3 separate regions of the Homo sapiens genome follow, and all the other regions are linked to region 1. The links are contacts of gene promoters, found by promoter capture Hi-C in human tissues and cell types (Jung and others, 2019). All regions are on one chromosome and are shown on one strand. Each heading gives the region's core, a stretch centred on a gene start or on the middle of the fragment in contact. The rest is flanking DNA. Distances are from core to core; before and after follow the strand shown.

The links. Contacts are between HindIII fragments. The study calls those that stand out against the background at their distance.
Region 2: a contact is called between a fragment that was not itself captured here and the fragment with the promoter of DPPA4 in region 1, in 1 of the 25 tissues and cell types used here (neural progenitor cells).
Region 3: a contact is called between a fragment that was not itself captured here and the fragment with the promoter of DPPA4 in region 1, in 2 of the 25 tissues and cell types used here (heart left ventricle and stomach).

Annotation. Positions count from the first base shown.
Region 1 is chr3:109,335,778-109,338,879 of GRCh38, forward strand. DPPA4 (developmental pluripotency associated 4) reads right to left here and starts at 1,769. Exons shown (of 7, transcript NM_018189.4): 1 at 1,687-1,769. The coding sequence starts at 1,740. RefSeq lists enhancers at 49-657, 658-1,266, 1,267-1,874, 3,093-3,102. The HindIII fragment of the contact is 13,883 bases long and covers 1-3,102 here.
Region 2 is chr3:109,298,483-109,301,323 of GRCh38, forward strand. DPPA2 (developmental pluripotency associated 2) reads right to left here. Exons shown (of 9, transcript NM_138815.4): 8 at 1,889-1,953. The coding sequence ends at 1,911. Among named protein-coding and RNA genes, the nearest start is that of DPPA2, 17 kb to the right of the region's middle. The HindIII fragment of the contact is 8,558 bases long and covers 1-2,841 here.
Region 3 is chr3:109,396,366-109,399,432 of GRCh38, forward strand. It overlaps the pseudogene RLIG1P2. Among named protein-coding and RNA genes, the nearest start is that of LINC01205, 12 kb to the right of the region's middle. RefSeq lists an enhancer at 1-240. The HindIII fragment of the contact is 3,574 bases long and covers 1-3,067 here.

The sequences.
Region 1 (3,102 bases), core at 519-3,018:
AATTACTTCTCAGACACAGAAGCTGAGAATCAGAGGTAACATAAAGACACAGATTAGGGGTACATTAGATATAAATTAAAATTTAAATATAAAGGCTAGGCTCCGTGGCTCACGCCTGTAATCCCGGCACTTTGGGAGGCCGAGGTGGGCTGACCGATTGAGGTCAGGAGTTCGAGACCAGCCTGGCTAACATATCGAAACTCAGTCACTACCAAAAATACAAAAACTACCTGGGCGTGGTGGTGCGTGCCTGCAATCCCAGCTAATCGAGAGGCTGAGTCAGGAGAATCGCTTGAACCCGGGAAGCAGAGGCTGCAGTGAGCCGAGATCGGCTACTGCACACCACTCTGGGCGACAGAGTCAAACTCATTAAAAAAAAAAAATTAATATAATAAAATTTCTCCTAAATCTAAATCCTTTTCTTCACTTTCAGGGTGGATTACTGGACAAATTAACATTTGTATGGCATTTTTACATCTCTATAGCAGTTCTACATTTTGATTTGAAATTTATATTTGCATAAACCTTACAAAAAGTACTCACTTTGGACCTCACAAAAGACTTAAAACCGAGACAGTTAAAAATGACCCAGTTCAAGTCAAGAGGACCTGAGAGCGCTCGGATATGGCCGTTCAGTGCCTGTGCAACGTCTTAAATCCTCTCTTCCTTCAGTTTCTGTCTGCATTGTTCCCAATGTCTGGCTTCTGATTACTCCTAGGTCCTAAGGACGCTGGGAAAAGGGGACGAATTCATTCTCAGCACCCTCGGTTTAGGATCTGTGTCCGTCTAAAGGAAATTAAGGGGTTTCATTCTTTTCCAAACTCAGCTCAATTACCTCTTCCTAAAATCTTTCCTTTAACACCCTTTTCTCCTGTTACCATTTCCCTCTAGCCCCCATATTCAGTTAGTTCTTTCTGACAGGACTAAGCACCTCTTCAAAACAGAAAACCCGGGCCGGGAGCAGCGGCGGGCGCCTGCAGTCCCAGTAGCACTTTGGTAAGCCGAGGTGGGAGGATCGTTTGAGCCTGGGCGGTTACAGTGAATAGTGATGGTGCCACTGCACTCCAGCCAGGGAGACAAAAGTGAAACCCTGTTCCAAAACACAAACCTGAAAACCTAATTTTTTAACTTTTTCTTTTGAGGTGGAGTTTCGCTCTGGTTGCCCAAGCTGGGGGTGCAATGGGGCGATCTCGGCTCACCGCAACCCCCGACTCCCGGGTTCAAGCGATTCTCCTGCCTCAGCCTCCCGAGTAGCTGGGATTACAGGTGTGCGCCACCACACCTGGCTAATTTTGTACTTTTAGTAGAGACGGGGTTTCTCCATTTTGGTCAGGCTGGTCTCGAACTCCCGACCTCAGGTGATCCGCCCGCCTCGGCTGCCCAAAGTGCTGGGATTACAGGCGTGAGCCACCGCGCCCGGCCTCTTTTTTTTTTTTCCCCATCTTTTGACACACTCAACCTCCTCAACTAAACCTAGAAAACCTCATTTCTTACTTGTCTGCTCACTCCAATATACCAGGCTGCAATCATATTCTTGGGCCTTACTCTTAAAATAAAAAAAAAAAAAGTCAAGAGGAGAAAATTCGAAGGCACATTCTTTTCTCCTTAAAGGAAAAATCAGGAGTGCCCAGGGAAGACAGAAACACAAAGACAGACAGAAAACAAATCCACTAAAACTGTACTGACCTCCTTGCCTTTTGCCTTCTCCATACTTGTAGAAGAAGCGGAGCCTCGCAACATGCTTCCAAAATGGCCCCTGCCCCAAGATTGCTATTTGCAAAGTCTCCTCCCACTTCCTGCCGCCCGAAGACCCTTTTTCTCTCCACCTCACCTCTTCTTTTCTTCTCCCCTTCTGTTCCCTCCCCCACAATTTGTAAATGCTAAAATTGCATTCTTTCTTATTCATGGGGTGACTTTTGTCTGGGTTGAATTACTAATACTATTCCTGGCCCTTTTCTGTTCACTTTAAATGTAATTATCCAAAGTATGGTTCCGGAGACATTGGGAGATTGAGCACTCCTTCAGAACGATTCTACGGGGAAAAAAAACAAAAAACAAAAAACAAAAAAACAGTGGCCAGAGACTTGAGCAGGATGTGTGAAGGGATTTAATAATGGAACTTGTGGCAACAGTAGACTTCAGAGACCAGACTGGCGGCTTGAAGAAAGCTATTTTCTCGTACCAAATACATTCCATTTCCTAAGTAAGTTACTCAACCAACTAAAACTCCAGGTTTCTCTGTACTAATACCGAGCATCTTTTCATCTGCCAACGAACTAATAATAGTAGCTTTTAAAGTCTATAGAGTATTTGTTATTTATTTTGTAGAGGGCAAGTGGGGGGGTCTGGCTATTTTGACCTGGCTGGTCTCGAACTCCTGCCCTCAAGTAATTCTCCAGCCTTGTCCTCCCAAAGTGTTGGGATTACAGGCGTGAGCCACCACTCCCCGCCCGAGTATTTTTTTATATCTCAAATTGTGAGTTTTAAATTCAGTCATTATTGTTCCCCATTTTATATATGACTAAAGTTGGTATAAATTTTTATTGGTAACTTTTTCAATAGCACAGTAAGTGAACCCCTAACCTACTGACTCCCAAAGAAGTTCAAGTTTTTCTCCTTAAAATAATTTGAAAAATCTTTCCTCAGATCAGTGCTCCCTGTCAGATTGTCAAGAGATGTGAAGTGAAGGAAGCAGTGGCTGTGCGACTGAAACCCTCCCTTGTCAGGGTCCAAAGTCTCTTTTGTTCTTTGGTTTACTTTGTTGTTTTTTTTTCCTACATCTCATTGCTTGTCCTAAAATGATAAATAAGAGACTGTCTTTATCCAAATGGTGTTAGTAATCTGCTCACAGGCTAGAAATCCACGGACAGAAAAAGTAAGTAAACGGAGCCCAGGAATAGAGAAGGAAGTGCAGGTTGTGGACTGGGCAACCCCCAAGGCGGCAAAGAGGAAACCAGGTGAGTTGAGGTCATCTGGGAGATATTAGGGCTTTGATTTAACAATTCTTTACCACAGCCTTTGGTAACCACCAGTAGGACTTTCTAATTAAGGTTTGTGTATAAAGTGTATAACTGAATCATCTTTCTTTTGTCAGTGTAATTG
Region 2 (2,841 bases), core at 186-2,685, 38 kb before region 1:
GGCGGGTGAATCACGAGGTCAGGAGCTCAAGACCAGCCTGGCCAACATGGTGAAACCCCATCTCTACTAAAAAAATACAAAAAATTAGCTGGGCATAGTGGCGGGTGCCTGTAATCCCAGCTACTCGGAAGGCTGAGGCAGGAGAATCGCTTGAACCTGGGAGGCGGAGGTTCCAGTGAGCTGAGATCGGCGTCACTGCACTCCAGCCTGGTGATAAAGTATGATTCTGTCTAAAAATAATAATAATAATAATAATAATAAAATAGCCAGGCACAGTGGCTCACGCCTGTAATCCCTGCACTTTGGAAGATTAAGCGAGTGGATTGCTTGAGCTCAGGAGTTCAATGGTCTTGAACCAGGCTGTTCACCTGAGCAACACGGTGAAACCCGTCCTCTACCAAAAATTAAAAAAAATTAGCTGGGCATTATGGTGTGTGTCTGTAGTCCCAGCTACTTGGGAGGCTGAGGTGAGAGGATGGCTTGAACACGGAAGGCAGAGGTTGCAGTGAGCTGAGATCGTGCCACTGCACTCCAGCCTGGGTGACAGAGCCAGACCCTGTCTCAAAAATAAACAAATTTTTAAGAAAGAAAAAGAGGCCGGGCACGGTGGCTCACGCCTGTAATCCTAGCACTGGGAGGCTGAGGCAGGTGGATCACCTGAGGTCAGGAGTTCCAGATCAGCCTGGCCAAAATGGTGAAACCCCGACTCTACTAAACATACCAAAAAAAAAAAAAAAAATTGACTGGGGGCTGGGTGCGGTGGCTCCCGCCTGTAATCCCAGCACTTTGGGAAACCGAAGCGGGTGGATCCCAAGATTAGGAGTTCGAGACAAGCCTGGCCAATATGGCAAAACCCCGTTTCTACTAATACAAAAAAATTAGCCGGGTGTGGTGGCACATGCCTGTAATCCCAGCTACTCGGGAGGCTGAAGCAGGAGAGTTGCTTGAACCCGGGAGGTGGGAGGCGGAGGTTGCAGTGAGCTGAGATCACGCCACTGCACTCCAGCCTGGGCAACAGAGTGAGACTCTGTCTCAAAAAAAATAAAATAAAAATTTAGCTGGGCGTGGTGGTGTGCACCTGTAATCCCAGCTACTTGGGAGGCGGAGGCAGGCGAATTGCTTGAACCTGGGAGGCAGGGGTTGCAGTGAGCTGAGATCTCATCATTGTACTCCAGCCTGGGCGACAAGAATGAGACCCCGTCTCAAAAAAAAAAAAAAGAAAAAGAAAAAGAAAAAGAAAAAAGAATAATGTATCAATATTGACTCATTAGTTTTTTTTTTTTTTTAGAGACTATGTTGCCCAGGCTGGAGTGCAGTGGCAATTCACAGGTGTGATCACAGAGAACTACAACCTTGAACTCCTCCTGGGTGCAAGTGATCCTCCTGACTTAGCCTTCCCGGTAGCTGGGACTACAGGTGACTACCACCATGCCCAGCCCTGCCTCATCAATTGTAAAAAATGTAGCACACTAATGCAAGTTACTAACAGAGGAAAATGGAGGGGGTGTGAAGCACCGTGTACATGGGAATACATGGGAACCCTATACTTTTCACTCAAGTTTTCATTTTCAAAAAAGAGTCCATTAATTAAAACAAAACCAAATTGTATTCTGTGCAGCTAACTATTTAGTAAGTCAGTACTCAAGGCATCAGGAGATACCAAAGATGGTCAGGACACAGCACAGCAATGATTGGGATGCAAGTTATCTACAGACGCGCCACCATTTGTACTTCCTGGTAGACAGCAGACAAGAGACTTTGATACATTTATGTCCTGTTTTTTAGTGAATAGGGGGAAGGCAGAGAGTTTCTCTTGTATGTGACTCTTTTCAATTGCCTTCAAATCAAAATAATACTTATTTTGAGGTGGCATATTCTCATCTCTTACATTGTATTCAAACAGGTTGCTGCTACTTCTCTACTGTCATTAATCTTTTCATCATCTTCTTATTCCTGTAAGGCAAGTAGAAAAGAACTGTGAAATATTGCTACAGCAAGGTAAACCATCCCTTACCAATCCCTTTAAAATGACCAATAAAATAAAGCATGCACTTCTGGGCCGGGTGTGGTGGCTCACGCCTGTAATCCTAGCACTGTGGGAGGCTGAGGAGGGCAGATCACCTGAGGTCAGGAGTTTGAGACCAGCCTGACCAATATGGTGAAACCCTGTGTCTGCTAAAATTACAAAAATTAGCCGGTCATGGTGGCACAGGCCTGTAGTCCCAGCTACTCAGGAGGCTGAGACCGGATAATTGTTTGAGTATGGGAGGCAGAGGTTGCAGTGAGCCGAGACCAAGCCACTGAACTTCAGCCTAGGTGACAGAGCGAGACTCAGTCTCAAAAAAAAAAAAAAAAAAAAAGAATGCACTTCTGGAGTTCCTGAGTCATTTGCCCTAAAACCTAGGAATGGTGCACAAAAAGACTTTATGTACTAAATAAAGGAAAAGGGTTGTTCACTTACTCTCAGGGCTTACATTCCACATACTGCAATGGATCTCACATCTTTTTTTTTTTTTTTTAAGACAGGTTCTCACTCTGCTGCCCAGGCTGGAGTGCAGTGGCACTATCACAGTTCACTGCAGCCTTGACTTCCAGGGCTGAGGTGATCCTCCCACCTCAGCCTCCCCAGTAGTTGGGACCACAGGTGCATGCCACCACACCTGGCTAATTTTTTTATATAGAGACAGGGTTTCACTATGTTTCTCAGGCCAGTCTCAAACTCCTAAGCTCAAGTCATCTGCCCACCTTGGCCTCCCAAAGTGCTAGGATTGCAGTTGTGAGCCACCATGCCCGGCTTCCTTCATCTTTATACTCTCCATTCCCCTCTCTTCATGCAGCTCC
Region 3 (3,067 bases), core at 298-2,797, 60 kb after region 1:
AGCCACCGCGCCCGGCCTCTATTTCCATATTCTTAACCCTTCATTCATCATAATCCTGAAGGAGGAAGTCTAGAAAGAAAAAAAAATCGGAGGTAAGGTTTTGGGGGCGCGGGCTGCAGCTGTCGCTGGGCGCGTGGTGTGAGCGGTCTGAGCCTCCGGCTTACTTGCTCAGGGCTTTCTTCCCGCGTGTGCTTGGCGCTGCTCACAAACGCGCTCTCCTCTAGCACCGCCTGCTGGGCCGACCACGAGGCGCCTGGGCTCCGTGTAGCGGAAAATGCCGTGTGTTTCTAGGGAGGTGAAAAAGGAGCCCTCCACCGAAAGGCAGAATCAGCCATTTAAAGTTTTGGCAACGAAAACTGTAAGTCATGAGGCATTAGATGCAGGTATCTACAGTGCAATTCCAACAGAAAAAGTGGATGGAACATGTTGTTACGTTGCTACTTACAGAGATACCTTTCGGTTTGATTAGATAGAAAACCTAACAAACAACCTGTTAAAAGGTTTTAAAATTTTCTACATTCAAAAGAAAACTTCAAAGAATTTTCTTGGAATGTTGAGGAGTACTTCAAAGCTACTCCAGAGTGTTGGCTAGCAGCAAAGGAAACAGAAAAATTAAATAGGAATCTGGTCCATGACGAAACATGGACACATTCCTGGTGGGGCACCAGTAGAGAAAAATAACAAATAGCATTACTGGCATTCCTCTGTGGTTAATTATGAATTTGCAATTGATCTGGTACTAAAGCATCATCCTGAGGATCCTAGGCTTTTGGAAATTAGTGCCGTGCCATTATCAGATTTCTTGGAACAAACATTGCAGCTTATAGGAACAAATATCAATGGAAACCCATATGGGTTAGGAAGGAAGAAGCATCCACAATATGTTATACTACACGGACCATTTCAAATAAGAAACCTGCCTATATTGGGCCGAGCGTGGTGGCTCATGCCAGTAATCCCAGCACTTTGGGAGGCTGAGGTCGGCGGATCACCTGAGGTCAGGAGTTCGAGACCAGCCCGGCCAATGTGGTGAAACCCCTTCTCTACTAAAAATACAAAAATTAGCTGAGCGTGGTGGCAGGCGCCTGTAATCCCAGCTACTCAGGAGGCTGAGCCAGGAGAATCGCTTGAGCCCAGGAGGCAGAGGCTGCAGAGAGCAGAGTCGCACCACTGCACCACAGCCTGGGTGACAGAGCGAGACACCGACTCAAAAAAAGAAACCTGCCTATGTTGAAGCACAATGATCTGTTGTCCTGGTTTGAAAGCTGCAGAGTAGGTAAAGTGAAAGGAATAGTATGGGATTGCAGTGATGGCTGTTTAATTAAGGTCCATTACCATCGTCTATCCTCTTTGTTTACACTGGCCAATTGCAGATGTTTACATGAATTCAGAACCAGTAATTACCAATATGAAACTTAACAAATATGACTATGCTTTTGATACTGTTTAACAATTTTTTTAATCAGAAATTTAGTAGGCTTAAAGATGTAATACTTGACATATAAAATGCAAGTGCAATTAAAATTAGTTTTATTTATTTATTTTTTGGAGACAGGGTCACCCACGCTGGAGTGTAGTGGTGTAATCACAGCTCACTGCAACCTCGACTTCCCAGGCTTAAATGATCCTCTCACCTCAGCCTCTTGAGTAGCTGGGACTATAGGATCATGCCACCATGCCTGGCTAATGTTTTTAATTTTTAAATTTTTTTGTAGAGACAGGGTCTCAGTGTGTTGCCTAGTCTGGTCTTGAACTCCTGGACTCAAGTGATCCTCCTGCTTTGGCCTCCCAAAGTGATGGGATTACAGGGGCGAGCCACCTCACCTGGCCAGAATTAGTTTTATTATTAAAAAAAAAAAAGAGAAGACAATCTGCAAAACAGAAAAAAGAATACGTCTGTTAAAAACTACAAAAGATGGCTGGGTGCGGTGAATCGTTTGAGTTCAGGAGTTTAAGACAAGCCTGAGCAACATGGTGAAACCCCATCTCTCCCAAAAATACAAAAATTAGCTGGGCATGTTGGTGCGTTGCCTGTGGTTGCAGCTACTTGGGAGGCTGAGGCTGGAAGATGGCTTGAGCCGGGAAGGTGGAGGTTATAGTGAGCTGAGATCATGCCACTGCACTCCAGCCTGGGCAACACAGTGAGACCTCATCCCAAAAAAAATTACAAAAGACTGGGAGAAAGCAGAAACAAGTATTGGGAAGACTGTGCTATGTGTAGAACACTCCTGTTCCACTAATAAAGGAATGTGACCTTTGATAGATTGAGTATAGGGAACATATAATGGAAGCATTAAAGGGGTGGATCTTCCTTACTTTTTGCCTCCACTCTACACTTTTAGGTCAGACGTTCCCCGAAAGGGGTATTATCAGGCCTAGAGTAGAGACAGATGAGAGGTGGTTGAAATTACTCTATTGTTATTGTATAACATAATTAATATAAGCAGTGACTCTATGGGATCCTTTAAAGCTTTTATTTTCTGGGTAAACATTTGTACCTGGGCCAGTGCTGGAATTAGTGACTGCTTCCCACTCTTTCTGCTTTTCTTCTCTTGATCACCAGTGGCAGGAGGGTGAGGCTAGGTAGGAAGGAAAGCTTGATGTCTGGATGTGCCCAGGGAGGATTTGGGTTGTAGCTGGTCCTCTAATTCCACCTAGAGGTAAGAACTGGATGTGGTCAGGGAGAATCCTCTTGCTACTTCTCTCTTGCTACAAGCTGGCAGGCTCCAGTTTTACTAAGGAACACAAAAGAGTCCAGAATAGGGCGCGCACACACACACACACACACACACACACACACACACACACACGATCATATTTTTTGGTTCATTTAAAAATTTTTTATTGTCATATAATATACACAATAAAGTGTACCAATCTTAAGTGCTCCATGAACTTTTACATATGAAAACACCTTTTAACCACAATTCGGTTAAAATTATCTGAATATATGCAGCAGCCCAGAAGGTAATATGAGGTGTGTTTTCAGTAAATACTGTCATCCAAAGTAACTAATATTTATTTTTCCACCCAAATGTAGATGGACATTGGATTAACTTCTGGTGTG